Regions from separate parts of the Homo sapiens genome. Here all the other regions are linked to region 1. The links are contacts of gene promoters, found by promoter capture Hi-C in blood cells and fetal thymus (Javierre and others, 2016). All regions are on one chromosome and are shown on one strand. Each heading gives the region's core, a stretch centred on a gene start or on the middle of the fragment in contact. The rest is flanking DNA. Distances are from core to core; before and after follow the strand shown. Region 1 holds the start of TM4SF19 (transmembrane 4 L six family member 19). Region 2 has its middle 15 kb from the start of SMCO1. Region 3 overlaps RNF168 (ring finger protein 168).

Region 1 (2,674 bases), core at 85-2,584:
TTTTTTTTTTTTTTTTTTTTTTTTTGAGACACAGTCTCGCTCTTGTTGCCCAGGCTGGAGTGCAGCGGCATGCTCTTGGCTCACTGCAACCTCCGCCTCTCGGGTTCAAGTTATTCTCCTGCCTCAGCCTCCCAAGTAGCTGGAATTACAGGCATGCACCACGCCCGGCTAATTTTGTATTTTTAGTAGTGATGGGTTTTCGCCATGTGGGTCAGGCTGGCCAAAAAGTAATTCTAATCAAGTGTGGTAAGAAATAGAGCAGACATGAGCAGGGCGGGAGAGGGCCTCTACCCCAGTAATGTCAGGTGACTATCAGGTGATGGCCAGGCGGTTGTTACACTGTCTTTCTAAAATAATATTGGTCACAGCCAGCGTTGGGAAAGACAGTCTCCCAATAGATAGAAAATACCTGAACTTGGTGATCAGCAGCTTCCTGGTAAGAGCTCAGGAATTGGGCGAGTGGGCTCAAGCATCTACACTAAGAAGCAAAATGGTGGAGTTTAGCTGGTGTGTGTGACCTTCCTCTAGTGCTGCTCCGCGGGTAAGGGAAAAACGCCTCAAGTGAGCATGCGCACGACTTCAGTAAACACACTGCGCATGCGGCCCCTCCCAAGTGCCTGTGCGGCAGGCAGGCGCCAAGTCAAGGGTCTAACAGCACATTTGGGTGTCTCAAGTCACGCACTTGGCCCTTTTCCAAGTGTACTTTACTTCCTTTCATTGCTGCTCAAAAACTTTTTAATAAACCTTCACTCCTGCTCTCAAACTTGCTTCAGCCTCTCCCTCTGCCTTAAACCCACTTCTGCCCCTCAGCCGAATCTCTCCCCCGAGAAGGCAAGGATTGAGTTTGCTGCAGACTCGCTGGATTCACAGCTGGTAACAGTAAGTACCAGGCAGGGGCATCCAACTTAAGGTGTCATGGAAGCACATGGAGGAACCTAATCCTATCTGGCAGAAGCAAAACGAAGCTTCCCGGAGGAAGGGCTGCCCATGCCCAAACTTGATGGACGATGAGATACTAGGCAGGAAGAGTATTCTAGGTGCAAAGGCCAGAAGTTGACAGACTGAGGCAACAGGAGAAGGTAAGTGAATGGCGCAAAGTCACACAGACGCCAAGCTGCAGAGCCAGGCTCACTGGAGTGGAAGCGTGCACTCTCATCTGTGAGGCTAGGCTGTTCCCTGGCCGTCACCTCACCCTTTCATCTCTGCTTACCTGCATCTGGTGTCAAGAATCAGAATGGGAGAGACAGAACCTGGAGAAAGGCTGCGTCTTCAGAGTGGGGCTCCACTCCTCCAGCTCCAGGGCTGGACCTGAAGGTTGTCTTTCCAGGACTCTTTCCAGGAGGGCCAGGGAGGCTCTGTATATACGTAGAGGTCACCCAGGCGTGTGTGTGTGCGCGCCCCCACGCCCCTGCCCACAGGCCTGCATTGAAGGCGCTTCCGCTCCCCGGAGAGCCCTGTCCTGATGACCCACCCTCTGCTCATTTTCATGTGATTCTAAGGCAGGAAACGGGAGACATGGCCTCATGAGCTCCGCTGTCCTGATGAGTCACTGGATGCACCCGTGAGAAACACCTCACCCTCCGCTCTCCCCAGGCAGCAACACTTGCCACACCCCAGCTGTTCCTGTCCTCATCTGCCACCCCGCGAAGAATTTCGGCTCTTTGACAGAACAGCACCGAGCAGGGCAGCCACCCCTTTTTCCTCATCACTCTCCTTACCTTGCCCTTGGCTGACTCGATGTGTTGCATGGTTCCTGTACTAGACGTCTAACTTTTTTTTTTTTTTTTTTTTGAGACAGGGTCTCACTCTGTCACCCAGGCTGGAGTGCAGTGGCATGATCTCGGCTCACTGCAACCTCCGCCTCCCACACTCAAGCAATCCTCCCACCTCAGCCTCCTGAGTAGCTGGGATTACAGGCACCTGCCACCATGCCCGGCTAATGTTTGTATTTTTAATAGAGACGGGGTTTTGCCATTTTGGCCAGGCTGGTCTCGAACTGCTGACCTCAGGTGTTCGCCTCAGCCTCCCAAAGTGCTGAGATTACAGGTGTGAGCCACCGCACTCAGCCTCTTGTTCAAGCCCCAGGCCACTATCATCTTGTACCATACTCTCACCAAATTGCTGAGGATTTTGTGGTGCTCTCTGTGTGGGAGATCCGTGACCCTCTATGGACAAGCTCCTATTCAAGATTCAGTTCAAACATTCCCAGTGAAGTCTGCCAGGATTTCTTTACTCCGAGTTAGGTACTTCTTTCTCTATGCTCCCATTGCATTTTAAACATCTAGATATTATATACAGTAAAGTGCACAAATCTTTTCTTTTCTTTTTTTTTTTTTTGAGACGGAGTTTCACTCTTGTTCCCAGGCTGGAGTGCAGTGGCACAATCTCAGCTCACTGCAACCTCTGCCTCCTGGCTTCAAGCAATTCTCCTGCCTCAGCCTCCCAAGTAGCTGGGATTACAGGCACGTGCCACCACGCCTGGCTAATTTTGTATTTTTAGTAGAAACACGGTTTCTCCATGTTGGTCAGGCTGGTCTCAAACTCCCGACCTCAGGCGATCCACCCGCCTCCGCCTCCCAAAGTGCTGGGATTACAGGTGTGAGCCAGCACGCCCAGCCTAAAGTGCACAAATCTTAATGTTAAAGTCTGATGAATTTTTACATGTATACCCTGG
Region 2 (2,674 bases), core at 104-2,603, 190 kb after region 1:
GAAATATAAGAAGAGGCCCACTGTGGAGCTTCTGAGGCCGGGCACGGTGGCTCACGCCTGTAATCCCAGCACTTTGGGAGGCTGAGGCTGGCGGATCACGAGGTCAGGAGTTCGAAACCAGCCTGGCCAACATGGTGAAACCCCCATCTCTACTAAAGATACAACAAATTAGCCGGGCGTGGTGGCGCGCACCTGTAATCCCAGCTACTCGGGAGGCTGAGGCAGGAGAATCGCTTGAACCCAGAAGGCAGAGGTTGTAGTGAGCCAAGATCGTGCCATTGCACTCCAGCCTGGGTGACAGGGCGAGACTCTGTCTCCATAAATTAATTAATTAATTAATTAATTAAGACATAGTCTTGCTACGTTGCCCAGGCTGGTCTCCAACTCCTGGGCTCAAGTGGTCCTCCCGCCTTGGCCTCCCAAAGTGCTGGGATTACAGGTGTGAGCCAGAAAAGTTTGTTTAAATTGTGCAAAAATATACATAACAAAATTTACCATTTTTATATTTTACTTACTTTTTATTTATTTCAATAGGTTTTTGGGGAACAGGTGGTGTTTGGTTTCATAAGTTCTTCAGTGGTGATTTCTGAGATTTGGTGCAGCCATCACTCGAGCAGTGTACACGGTACCCAACGTGTGGTCTTTTATCCCTCGCCCCCTTCCCACCCTTTCCCCTGAATACCCAAAGTGCATTGTATCTTTTTTTTTTTTTTTTTTTTTGTGAGATGTAGTCTCTCTGTGTCGCCCAGGCTGGAGTGCAATGGCACGATCTCGGCTCACTGCAACCTCTGCCTCCCGGGTTCAAGTGATTCTCCTGCCTTAGCCTCCTGAATAGCTGGGACTACAGGCACATGCCACCAAGCCCAGCTAATTTTTGTATTTCTAGTAGAGACGGGGTTTCACCATGTTGGGCAGGATGGTCTCGATCTCTTGACCTCATGATTCGCCTGCCTCGGCCTCCCAAAGTGCTGGGATTACAGGCTTGAGCCACCGCACCCGGTCCACTCCGTGGCTTTCTTTTCATCATCTTGATGGTGTGTTTTCATGAACTAATGTTCTTAATTTTCAAGTAGTCCAATTTATCATGTTTTCATTTTGATGTCTTATATATGAAATTTTTCCTACCCCAAGGTCATGAAAATATTTTTTTCCTTTTAGAAGCTTCACCACTTTACCTATTACATTTATATCTGTAATATGCCTAAAATTTAGACCTTTGGATTAATGTGAAGAAGGTCAAGATTCTTTTCTTCTCCATATGGATATACAACTGACTCAATCCCATTTATTATAAAGAGTTTCCTCACTGCTCTGCAGTGGACTTTTGTCATTAATCAAGTTTGCATACATGCAAGCATCTATTTCTATCCTCTATTCTGTTCCATTGGTCTGCTTATTTATTCTTGTGCCCAAATCACACTCAACCTTAATTATTTTGGCTTCATTAAAAAGTCTTAATAACATACAGTGTGAGTCCTCCAGCTATGCTCTTCAAGATTATCTGGGGTATTCTGGGCCATTTGCATTTTCATATAAAATTTTCAATAAGCTTGCTAATTTTTAGAACGCTATGAGCTGGGATATTGAGTAGAATTACATTGACATCTTCATAATATTTAGCCTTCTAATTCATGAATATGATACGTATCTTTATTTAGATTCTCTTTAATTTTCCTCGGTCGTGTTTTGTAGTTTCCTTTGTAGAGTTTTTGCATGTTTTCCATTAGATTTATTACTAGGTATTTGATGTTTCTTGATGCTGTTGTAAGTAGTGTTTAATGTTTTTCTTATTGCTGTTATAAATACGACCAATTTTTCTATATTTACCTTTTTATTCAGCAACCTTACTAAACCCATTTTTCACTTAGTCGTTCATCTGTAGATGCCCGCCCGCCCGCCTGCCTGCCTGCCCGCCCACCCGCCCGCCTGCCCGCCCGCCTGCCCGCCTGCCCGCCTGCCCGCCTTTCTTTTCTTTCGTCTTGCTCTGTCACCCAGGCTGGAGTGCAGTGGCGTGATCTCAGCTCACTGCAACCTCCACCTCCTGGGTTCAAGTGGCTCTCCTGCCTCAGCCTCCTGAGTAGCTGGTACTACCGGCACATGCCACCACACCTGACTAATTTTTGTATTTTTAGTAGAGACAGGGTTGCACCATGTTGGCCAGGCTTGTCTCAAACTCCTGACCTCAGGTGATCCACCCACCTTTTCCTCCCAAAGTGCTGGAATTACAGGCGTGAGTCACCGCATCCGTCCTTGTTCTGCAAACACAATCATGTTGTCTGTGAATGACAGTTTTAGTTCTTCCTTTCCAATTCTTATGTCTTTCATTTCTTTTTCTTGTCTTGTTGTAATGTCTACACCTTCAACAGAATGTTGAATAGAATTAATCAAGGGAATTTCATTCTATTCTCAAACTCCTGACCTCAGGCCATCTGCCTGCCTCAGCCTCCCAAAGTGCTGGGATTATAGGCTTCATTCTATTCTCTTGTTACCAACATCATGAAGAAAGTTTCAGTGTTTTACCATGTTTCTAAATTATTCATGTCTCAAAGAAGAAAATACAATGAAAATTTTAAATGTTTCATTGAAAAACAATGAAAATGTGACATAAGACAATAAGGAGGTAGCTAAAACTGTACTTTGAAGAAATTTTGTCTCAAATGCAAAATAAAAGCTG
Region 3 (2,674 bases), core at 108-2,607, 150 kb after region 1:
CTGACTCATGCATTTTGTGTAATAGAGAAGAAATGACAAATTGTAAACTCTTTCAGTGAAGATAAGCCTATCTGGGACCCATTTTTTTCATCTGAATTTAAACCAAGAGAAAGAGGAATCCAATGGTTCACTTTGAGAAAACTGGAAATCCTGAGGCAGTAAGATAAAAGTATGAATCTGCCACAGTAAGTGGCTGAGTGAGAAGCCAAGAGGAAGCTGTGTGAGTAGCTCTCTCCTTTTCAATTTACCTCAACCTCAGACTATTTTCATACAAAGTTCACGGACCAAACTTTGAGAATCAGTAGTAGTCTATATGAACAGAAAACACTGGCATACAGTAGGAGGTCAACAAATAATTCATAGTCATGTTCACTTACTTCTGAATATCTCCAGTGTTTCTTTGTTTGTTCTTACTTTTCTTTTCAGACTTGGGTGTAACTGGATCAGATTTTCTGGAATTCAAGGGAGAAGCCGAGATACTTCCCTCACAGAAATTGTTCTTCAACAATAGAAAAAGCATAACAGACATTATGAGAGAGAACTTTATGATAAAATAAGCTATTAATTTGACTAATTCAGAAATCCATAGCATTTTTCAGAAATTATAGTTATATTTAAATTCTGTACATCTCTTGAAGAATATTGACCATGCAAAAATCAGAATAAACTATGTTCATCCAAGTTGGTCTAAATTAATTACATTTTTACTGTACATCAAGCACAAAATAAGGCATAATACTAACCTCATTAGCTGATAATTCCTGTTGATCTTTCTTTCCTTTTTTTTTTTTTTTTTGAGACGCAGTCTCGCTCTGTTGCCCAGGCTGGAGTGCAGTGGCGCGATCTCGGCTCACTGCAAGCTCCACCCCCGCAGGTTCATGCCATTCTCCTGCCTCAGCCTCCTGAGTAGCTGGGACTACCGGCGCCCTCCACCATGCCCGGCTAATTTTTTGTATTTTTTTTAGTAGAGATGGGGTTTCACTGTGTTAGCCAGGATGGTCTCGATTTCCTGACCTCATGATCTGCCTGCCTCGGCCTCCCAAAGTGCTGGGATTACAGGCATGAGGCACCGCGCCCGGCCTTTTTTTTTTTTTTTTTTTTTTTTTTAAGACAGGGTCTCACTCTGTCGCCGAGGCTGGAGTGCAGTGTAGCAATCATGGCTCCTTGCAACCTTGACCTCCCAGGTTCAAGTGATCCTCCCACCTTCACCTCCCAAGTAGCTAGGACTACAGGCATGAGCCACCAGGCTTGGTTAGGTGGGTTGTTTTTGTTTTATTTTGAGACAGAGTCTTGCTCTGTCATCCAGGCTGGACTGCAGTGGAGTGATCATAGCTCACTGTAGCCTCAACCTCCTGGGCTCAGGCAATCCTCCCATCTTAGCTTCTCGAGTAGCTAGGACACAGGCATGTGCCACCATGCCCAGCTACTTTTTTTTAAATGCTTTGTAAAGATGAGGTCTCACTATGTTGCCCAGGCTGGTCTCCAACTATTGGAATCAAGTGATTCCCCCACCACAGCCTTCCAAAGTGTTCGGATTATAGGTCTGTGCCACTGTGCCCAGCCTGTTGATTTTTCTAATAAATACTTTTATATAATTACTTTTATCTATATGGACATATTCAGAGAGCTGTGGATATACCCAAAAGAATAGTTTTATGTAATAATATTTTAGTTCTGGACTTTAAGGGCGTATTAATAAAAATCACAAATATTTACTTGCTGTACCAGTCTCGTAAGTTTCTTACTACCCTAATGGAAAAGTTCATATATGGTGATGGTGAATATTTGGCCTTAAACCACCAAACTTTCATAAATAAATAGAAAATTATTCTAGGTTGGGCATGGTGGTTCATGCCTGTAATCCCAGCACTTTGGGAGGCTGAGGTGGGTGGATCACATGAGGCCAGGAGTTCAAGACCAGCCTGGCCAACATGGTGAAACCCCATCGGCACTAAAAATACAAAAATTAACAGGATGTGGTGGCGGCACCTGTAATCCCAGATACTCTGGAGGCTGAGGCAGGAGCATCGCTTGAACCGGGAGTTGAGGTTGCACTACTGCACTCCAGCCTGGGTGACAGAGTGAGACTCTTGTCTCAAAAAAAAAAAAAGTTAAAAAAATTATTCTACAGTATCAATAAATCTACTCTTATAATACCATGGGAAAACTAGATATACTTCTTCCCTATTCCATTTATTATTCCATTGGTCAATGACTTTTATTTAGTTTCCTGATTGTGTATTTCTAAAGCGATTCTACTTAAAAAAGACACATAAAAAGGGGCATATAACCCAAAATTTGGGTACATTATTATTAATGGTAGGCCTCTCAAAAAAGAAAAAAATTCCCAATTCTGCGTATACTCATTTTGCTAAGTGTATATACATATATATTTTTTTATTCTATTGAACTTCCCATGATTCAATGGTAAGTGTATGTTAAGATATTCGTTGTTTGAAAGCTGAAGAATTGTTTTCACAGGCTCTCAAACCTGAATGTTTCACACTTCCCTACATGCCTCTGAAGATTGTATTCCCTAGGTCCCATCCCTAGAGACTCTGACTTAATAGATTTGGAGTAAATATGAGAGTTTGTATTTCAACAGCATTCCCAGGTTACTCTGCCAGGCTCGTTCAAACCACTGGGCCCCACAGTACCCTCTGATCTTAAAGTA

What was found. Contacts are between HindIII fragments. The CHiCAGO score rates a contact against its expected background, and 5 or more counts as called.
Region 2: a fragment that was not itself captured here is called in contact with the fragment with the promoter of TM4SF19 in region 1 in 1 of 17 cell types (M0 macrophages); the score reaches 5.2 in M0 macrophages.
Region 3: a contact is called between a fragment that was not itself captured here and the fragment with the promoter of TM4SF19 in region 1, in 2 of 17 cell types (M2 macrophages and M0 macrophages). The highest score is 8.7, in M2 macrophages.

The regions. Positions count from the first base shown.
Region 1 is chr3:196,337,054-196,339,727 of GRCh38, forward strand. TM4SF19 (transmembrane 4 L six family member 19) reads right to left here and starts at 1,335. Exons shown (of 5, transcript NM_138461.4): 1 at 1,211-1,335. It overlaps TM4SF19-DYNLT2B (TM4SF19-DYNLT2B readthrough (NMD candidate)), which reads right to left and starts at 1,367. Exons shown (of 6, transcript NR_037950.1): 1 at 1,211-1,367. RefSeq lists enhancers at 859-2,058, 1,425-1,719 and a silencer at 1,468-1,639. The HindIII fragment of the contact is 5,119 bases long and covers 964-2,674 here.
Region 2 is chr3:196,529,399-196,532,072 of GRCh38, forward strand. No RefSeq gene overlaps it. Among named protein-coding and RNA genes, the nearest start is that of SMCO1, 15 kb to the left of the region's middle. The HindIII fragment of the contact is 388 bases long and covers 1,160-1,547 here.
Region 3 is chr3:196,483,393-196,486,066 of GRCh38, forward strand. It overlaps RNF168 (ring finger protein 168), which reads right to left. Exons shown (of 6, transcript NM_152617.4): 4 at 378-499. Among named protein-coding and RNA genes, the nearest start is that of RNF168, 19 kb to the right of the region's middle. The HindIII fragment of the contact is 3,204 bases long and covers 1-2,674 here.